Linked DNA regions of Homo sapiens: region 2 is linked to region 1. The links are contacts of gene promoters, found by promoter capture Hi-C in human tissues and cell types (Jung and others, 2019). All regions are on one chromosome and are shown on one strand. Each heading gives the region's core, a stretch centred on a gene start or on the middle of the fragment in contact. The rest is flanking DNA. Distances are from core to core; before and after follow the strand shown.

Region 1 (4,082 bases), core at 550-3,049:
GCCGAGGCAGGTGGATTGCTTGAGCCCAGGAGTTCAAGCCCAGCCTGGGCAACATAGGGAGACCCCATCTCTACAAAACATACAAAAATTAGCCAGACATGGTGGCACACTCCTGTAGCCCCACCTACTCAGGAGGCTGAGGTGGGAGGATTGCTTGAGCCCGGGAGGTCGAGGCTGCAGTGAGCCGAGATCACACCACTGCACTTCCTCCAGCCAGCCTGGGCAACAGAAGGAGATCTCATCTCAAAAGAAAACAAAACAAAACAAAAAAAAACAAACAAACAAAAAAACAAGGATAGAGTGTAGTAAATTTCTGTCCTGGAAGTTAGACTATGTTGCCAGTTTCAGTTTCTTCTCTCTTGTTCCAGTTCATCTGGACACAATCCCAGAACACACACAAACCCAGAACAGGCTGCAGGCTGTACTTGACCTTCCATTTTTCTCTTCTACAGGTTATCACTTGGAGACTTACCATATATGCACACGGTGAGCTTCTTTGTTCTTTTCTATGGACACCTAGTATTCCACTGGGTGGATCAGTCATGATTTATTACTCAGCTCTCCTACAGATGGGTGTTTAGATTGGTTTCAGCTGTTTGCAGTGATGTGCAGTACTGCAATGATTAACCTGGTGCAGACATTATTTTGTGCAGTTCCGAGTAGATGCCTCTGAAGAATAAATTCCTGGAATTGCTGGCTCGGTAAGAATGTTCCAGGTTCTACTTGCCCCAGCCGTGTATGAAAGGACCTGTTTGCTCGCACTCTCATTAGCACTGTTTGGCAGGAATGTAACCTTAAACAAACAGCGTCAAGCTGTGGGTATACTCCTGCAAAATGCCTTTTCTGCTCCAGAATAGGTTTCTGAGATGTCGCCAGGTTGGTTTCATTCTGCCAATTTCAGCTGAAACATTGCTGCCTCCAGGAAGACCTCAGGAATCACCTCCTCCCAGTGTGAGCTCAGCTCAGTGCCTTCTGTTCTCTGCATTCCCATAGCAGTTCCCTGCCTCGGAGCACACGTTCCCCCACATGCACTCCAGCGTGATTGATCCGTATCTATCTGCCTTCCCCATCAGACAGTGAGCTCCGGTTTTTGCCACTGTGACTCCAGCACCAAGGACAGCACCAGCCCATAGTAGGTGCTCAGTAAACATTGGCTGCTAAGGTCCCAGTGAATATGCGTATATGTAGACAAATATATGCAGGCTGGCCCGTAGTAGATATTCAGTAAATATTGGTCGCTTAGGGTTGAATGAGTATATGCAGGGGCTTTCACAAAGGGGGAAACCGAGGCTCGAAGTGGGAGAATCCTTCACCCAGACAGCCAAGGGAAGGCTGGAGCCAGGTTCTGATCCAGAGTGCCAGTACTTCCTGAAGCCTCTGTCACTGATTCATTCATCTTCCTCCCCCGGCCACTCCCCTGGCCTGACACAGTGCCTGGCACAGACAGGACCTGATAAATGTGTATTTGTTGAAGGAATGAATGAATATGTGTGTGTGCATGTTGGGGAGCCGGGAGTAGCTGGACCCAGTGTTCCAGGCCCTCAGCACCCTCCGCCCTCTGGGAGCCCGGGGGACAGGCCCCCAGCCCCCTCCCCTCACAGGACCCTGTAGTGCAAGCTGCCTTCCCTCCCCTCTCCAGGTCCCCCGTCCTCCCGCTTCCGGCTTCCCAGCCAGTCTTTCCTCTTTCAGGCTCCGAGGAAAGGCCAGGTTTCCGGGGGGAAGGCTTAGGCAGTGACACCGAGCCCAGCCTCCTCCTCCACCCCCCACCACGCTCAGGCCCCCCTCCCTCCCCGCCACCACCGTCCGCGTTTGGCCGGCCGTGGGGAAGGAAGAAAGGAGCCAAGGAGGCGAGGTAAGAACCCAGCCCCAGCGACCAGGACCAAGCCCCAGGCCCAGGGCTGAGAAATCCTCAAGGCCTCGACCCGGCCCCAATTCTGCTGATCATGCCTTCGGGGAGCTGCAGGCTTGGCCCGGAGGAGATCGGCCCCCCTCTAGGACCTGGGACCCCCGACCCCCACCAGCCTCCCTCCCGAGTCCAGGGGTCCGGCCCTCAGTCGCCTCCTCCCTGGGGATTCCCGGCAGCTGGGTCCCCAGCCCCCGCCTCCCCCTTGTCCTGGGAGCCCAGCCCCCTCCCCAGCCCCTCCTCCACCGGGACCCAGGAATCCACACCTCCTCCATACCAGAGTCCAGATTCCCCAATCCGTCATGACCTGGACCCAGGAGTCTCAATCCCCAGCTCCCATCCCCATCAGTCCCAAGAGTCTGGGCCCCTAGCCCCCTCCCAACTCAGACCAGAAGTCTGAACCCTCCTACTCCCCGACCTCTCCCAGCCCCTGGCATCTGAGAACACACTCTATTTCCGGGGCCTACCGGCTTCAAATCCCACCCCCTCCACTCAGGCCCCATGGGCTGTGTCCCAGCCCCTCCCAAAACGTTCAGCCTGGCCGGGGGACCTGGAGCAGAAGCGGTTCGCTGACTTTGTCCCCCTCCGTGCCTCTGCCCAGTTCACTCCCTCTGTGTCTCTGTCTCCCTGTCTCTCCGGCCCCCAACCCGCCACTGCTCTTCTGATCTCTGCTCTTGCACTATCTCTGCCTCTGGTTCTCCAAGTCTCTTTGTTTCCTCTTCTCTGTGTCTCTGTCTCTCTGCTGGGTGTTCCTCACTCTCCTCTGTCTCTTCTCTGCTCTGCCTTTCACCATCCTGTCTTTCTGCGACTCCTGGTCTCTGTCTGTCCATCCCCACTTCTCTGTGTCTCCCATCTCTGCCTTCTCCTGTCTCTATTCCCTGCTCTGTCGCTCTGTCTCTGATCTCTCTCCTCCTGTCTCTCCATCTCTGGCCTCCCCTCGGTGTCTCTCATCTTTGTCTCTGTCTCATATCTCTCTCCTGGCTAAATACCTGACCCTCTCTGCCTCTCCATCTCTGACTGTCTCTGCTTCTCTTTCTGCCACACCCCACGCACCTCTTTTTATCTCTGCCCCGCTTCCCATCTCTCCCCTCTCTCCCCACAGGCATGGATCCGCAGCCTCCTCCACCCGCCCAGGGCAGCCCACCTCACCGTGGCCGAGGCCGGGGCCGTGGCCGAGGCCGTGGTCGGGGCCGTGGCCGTGGCAGGGGGGGCGCTGGAGCCCCTAGGGCGCCCCTGCCCTGCCCCACCTGCGGCCGCCTCTTCCGTTTCCCCTACTACCTCTCCCGGCACCGGCTGAGCCACTCGGGGCTCCGGCCCCACGCCTGCCCGCTGTGCCCCAAGGCCTTCCGCCGGCCGGCCCACCTTTCCCGCCACCTGCGCGGCCACGGGCCCCAGCCCCCGCTGCGCTGCGCCGCCTGCCCCCGCACCTTCCCAGAACCGGCCCAGCTCAGGCGCCACCTGGCTCAGGAGCACGCGGGCGGCGAGGTCGAGCTGGCCATCGAGAGGGTGGCCAAGGAGACGGCCGAACCCAGCTGGGGCCCGCAGGACGAGGGCTCGGAGCCGCCCACCACCGCTGCAGCAGGGGCCACGGAGGAGGAGGCGGTCGCAGCGTGGCCTGAGACGTGGCCTGCGGGGGAGCCTTCCACGCTGGCTGCGCCCACCAGCGCCGCGGAGCCCCGGGAGTCGGAGTCGGAGGAGGCCGAGGCCGGGGCAGCAGAGCTGAGGGCCGAGCTGGCGCTGGCGGCCGGGCGGCAGGAGGAGAAACAGGTCCTGCTCCAGGCAGACTGGACGCTGCTGTGTCTGCGCTGCCGCGAAGCCTTCGCCACCAAGGGCGAGCTCAAGGCGCACCCGTGTCTGCGCCCCGAGGGCGAACAGGAAGGGGAAGGGGGGCCCCCGCCACGCCCCAAGCGACACCAGTGCTCCATCTGCCTCAAGGCCTTCGCCAGGCCCTGGTCCCTGTCGCGCCACCGGCTGGTCCACTCCACCGACCGCCCTTTCGTGTGCCCAGACTGCGGCCTGGCCTTCCGCCTCGCCTCCTACCTCCGCCAGCACCGCCGCGTCCACGGCCCCCTCAGCCTGCTGGCCCCGCTGCCCGCGGCGGGCAAGAAGGACGACAAGGCCTCGGGTGCACGGAACTCAGCCAAGGGGCCGGAGGGGGGCGAGGGGGCGGAGTGCGGGG
Region 2 (4,270 bases), core at 837-3,336, 1.7 Mb after region 1:
CTCACAGCAACCTCCACCTCCCAGGTTCAAGCAATTCTCCTGCCTCAGCCTCCCAAGAAGCTTGGAGTACAGGCGCATGCTGCCACGCCCAGCTAATTTTTTGTATTTTTAGTAGAGACAGGGTTTCACTACGTTGGCCAGGCTGGTCTCGAACTCCTGAACTCGTGATCTGCCTGCCTCGGCCTCCTAAAGTGCTAGGATTATAGGCATGAGCCACCACGCCAGGCGGGCTTAATTTATTTATTTTTATTTTTCATTTTTTGAGATGGAGTCTCACACTGTCACCCAGGCTGGAGTGCAGTGGCGTGATCTCGGCTCACTGCAACCGCCACCTCCCAGGTTCAAGCGATTCTCTTTGCCTCAGCCTCCTGAGTAGCTGGGATCACAGGTGCCTACCACCATGCCCGGCTAATTTTTTTTTTTTTGTATTTTTAGTAGAGACAGGGTTTCACTATGTTGGCCAGGCTGGTCTTGGACTCCTGACCTTGTGATCCGCCCACCTCAGCCTCCCAAAGTGCTGGGATTACAGGTGTAAGCCACTGTGCCTAGCCGGGTTTTATTTTTTATATTTTATTTTATATTTTGTAGACACAGGGGTCTCCCTATGTTGTTCAAGCTGGTCTCGAACTCCTGGCCTCAAGTGATCCTCCTGCCTCGACCTCTCAAAGCTCTGGTATTATAGGTGTGAACTACTGCATCTGGCCTGTATAATTTTCTTATTTTAAACATATTAATGTATTAGCAATATAAAAGTATATTTATATTACATGACTCAATGCACGTAAAATACTTAAAACAATGTCTTATATCGGCACACACACACATATATATATACACACACATTTATACATGCATATATATATATATCTGTGTGTGTATATATATGCAATGGATATTTCCAGAAAGATACAGAAGAAATCAGTAAAAACAGAAAGGGAGGAACTCTGGGCAACTGGAAAACAGGGGTGGCTGAGGAGGCTTGCGTCTACCCTGAAATCTATTACCAAGTCAAAACACATCACTATGGATGTATGTATTTTAACGAAGTATTTATAATCTTTCAGGCAAGGAGCCCAGTGATAACAAATGGCTGTAGATGCTTTTCCTCCATCAAGCTTCCAGGAGGAGATGAGATGGAGCCCATCGCTGAGCCAAGGTCACCAGCCCCATTTCACAAATGTAAATAGCAGGTGTCCCCCACACAGTCTGAACACTTGGAGGCCAAGATTCATTTCTCTCAGGGCCCACCATCCTCAAGCATGGGATTGATTTAGTGCCTCTTGCTGGGAAGCAAAGTTCTGGGAGCCATAGTGGGATCCTCCCTCCCTCCCTGCAGGAGACTGGGGCCCTTCCAAGCAGCAACTGAGACCAGTCAACAACCTCTGCCTTAGGCCAGGCGCGGTGGCTCACGCCTGTAATCCCAACACTTTGGGAGGCTGAGGCGGGCAGATCATCTGAGGTCAGGAGTTCAAAACCATCCTGGCCAACATGGTGAAACCCCGTCTCTACTAAAAATACAAAAATTAGCTGGGCGTGGTGGTGCGTGCCTGTTGTCCTAGCTACTCCGGAGGCCAAGGCAGGAGAATTCCTTGAACCTGGGAGACAGAGGTTGCAGGTCTGAGATTGCACCACAGCATCCAGCCTGGGCGACAGAGTGAGACCCTGTCTCAAAAAGAAACAAATTAAAAAACAAAAAACAAAAAACAACCTCTGCCTGCCCTTGGGGCCTAGCATGAGCCCCTGCACACAGGAGGCTTCTATAAAAATAGCTCATTTCGGGTAATCTAGGGCAGAACCCAGGCTTTTACCACTTGTGGTTTCTCTTTCTAAATGTGTAGTTAAAAGCTGTAGGCCAGACCTGGTGCATGGTGGCTCATGCCTGGAATCCCAACACTTTGGGAGGCTGAGGTGGGAGAATCACTTGAGGTCAGGAATTTGAGATCAGCTTGGCCAATATAGCAAGACCCTGACTCTTTAAAAAAAAAATTTTTTTTTTAATTAGCCAGGCAAGGTGGTTGTGCCTATAGTTCCAGCTACTCAGGAGGCTGAGGCAGGAGGCTCACTTGAGCCCAGGAGTGCGAGGCTGCAGTGAGCTGTGACTGCACTGCTACACTCCAGCCTGGACAAACTGAGCAAGACCCCATCTTAAAAAAAAAAAAAAAAAAAAAAAAAAAAAAAGACTGGTTGCAGTGGCTCATGCCTGTAATCCCAGCACTTTGGGAGGCCGAGGTGGGCGGATCACCTGAGGTCGGGAGTTCGAGACCAGCCTGACCAACATGGAGAAACTCCATCTCTACTAAAAATACAGAATTAGCTGGGTGTGGTGGCACATGCCTGTAATCCCAGCAACTCAGGAGGCTGAGGCAGGAGAATCACTTGAACCCAGGAGGCGGAGGTTGCTGTGAGCTGAGATCGCGCCATTGCACCCCAGCCTGGGCAACAAGAGCAAAACTCCGTCTCAAAAAAAAAAAAAAGAAGAAGAAGAAGAAACCCAAACACACACACAAACAAAATAACAGGTGCAGGCCAGTTAAACAAAAACAACTCAAGAACTGTGCCCTGCAGGGGCGCATTCATGTGCGGGTGCCCCCTAGAGGACTCTGAGGGTAGAATGCATTCATCCTGAATGGATGCAAGAGGATCATTTTTCTTCATCCAAAGTGAATTCCCTACCGTATGCTATGCCCAGGGGACATGGCCAGTGAACAAGACATGCAAACATTATTGCTGCTGCTCTGTTCACACATGCAAGAGAGAGACAATGAGTCAGCAAACACACACATAAGTTGTTTTTGTATAGCAAAATGTACCAGAACATAAGATATAGGGGACTGGTGGCTGGGCGTGGTGGCTCATGCCTGTCATCCCAGCACTGTGGGAGGCCGAGGCAGGTGGATCACCTGAGGTCAGGAGTTGAGACCAGCCTGGGCAACATGGGGAAACCCCATCTCTACTAAAAAATACAAGTCCCAGCTACTCAGGAGGCTGAGGCAGGGGAATTGCTTGAACCTGGGAGGCGGAGGTTGCAGTGAGCCAAGATCGCCCCACTGCAATCCAGCCTGGGTGACAGGTAGAGACTCCATCTCAAAATGATGATGATAAGAAGAAGAAGAAGAAGAAGAAGAAGGCTGGGCACGGTGGCTCACGCCTGTAATCCCATCACTTTGGGAGGCTGAGGCAGGCAGATCACGAGGTCAGGAGTTCGAGACCAGTCTGACCAACATGGTGAAGCCCCATCTCTACTAAAACTACAAAAATTAGTCGGGCATGGTGGTGTACGCCTGTAATCCCAGCTACTCAGGAGGCTGAGGCAGGAGAATTGCTTGACCCTGGGAGGCAGAGGTTGCAGTGAGCCGAGATCGTGCCACTGCACTCCAGCCTGGGTGACAGAGCAAGACTCCATCTCAGATAATAATAATAATAATAATGGCTCAAGCTAATAAAAGAAGGCCTGTCAATGCACCTATATCACCTTCTCTGTTGCATTATTAAAAAAAAAAAGATATAGGAGGCTGGGGTGAGCTACTTTAGATGGAGTGGTCAGGGAAAGGCCTTTTGAGGGGAGGACTCTGAGCTGCTGGCTGAAGGATAAGACAGAACCACCACCCAAAGCATCTAAGAAAGGCTGCCAGTCCAGACACAGGCGCCCTGAGTGGTACACAATAGGTGTGCTCATCCGAGAGCAATGAGGCTAGTGCCGCTGAATTCAGAGTGATTGAGGAACTGCGGTAGGAAATGAGGCAAATAATGTGGTATTGTCGCAACCATGGAAATGCAGGCTGATGACACAGAACACTACAGATTTCAGAAACAGATGCACTTGATCTGTGCACAAAGTCACATTGCTTTTTTGCAGTCGAGAACAGACATTTTTGTGGAGCTGTATTCGGTCCAGGACCCCGACCTTACACCGTACCCCAAATACATTTCTAGATGGTTCACATGTCTAAGTGTGAAAGATAAAACTATAAATATTCAAGAGCAAGGCATTGGGAAACATCTCTGGGATATCAGGATTGGCAAGGATTTCTTTTTTCTTTCCTTTTTTTTTTTTTGAGACAGATTCTTGCTCTGTTGCCCAGAATGGAGTGCAGTGGCGCGATCTTGGCTCACTGCCAGCCTCCGCTTCCTGGGTTCAAGCGATTCTCCTGCCTCAGCCTCCCGAGTAGCTGGGACTACAGGCGCCCACCATGCCCACCTAATTTTTATATTTTTAGTAGAGACGGGGTTTCACCATGTTGGCCAGGCTGATCTCAAACTCCTGACATCA

Evidence for each region. Contacts are between HindIII fragments. The study calls those that stand out against the background at their distance.
Region 2: a fragment that was not itself captured here is called in contact with the fragment with the promoter of ZNF579 in region 1 in 1 of the 25 tissues and cell types used here (spleen).

Annotation. Positions count from the first base shown.
Region 1 is chr19:55,578,565-55,582,646 of GRCh38, reverse strand. It overlaps ZNF579 (zinc finger protein 579), which reads left to right and starts at 1,799. Exons shown (of 2, transcript NM_152600.3): 1 at 1,799-1,852; 2 at 3,006-4,082. The coding sequence starts at 3,008. RefSeq lists silencers at 450-744, 1,456-1,595. The HindIII fragment of the contact is 17,237 bases long and covers 1-4,082 here.
Region 2 is chr19:53,851,430-53,855,699 of GRCh38, reverse strand. It overlaps MYADM-AS1 (MYADM antisense RNA 1), which reads left to right. Exons shown (of 3, transcript NR_184033.1): 3 at 1,065-3,466. Among named protein-coding and RNA genes, the nearest start is that of MYADM, 14 kb to the left of the region's middle. The HindIII fragment of the contact is 6,687 bases long and covers 1-4,270 here.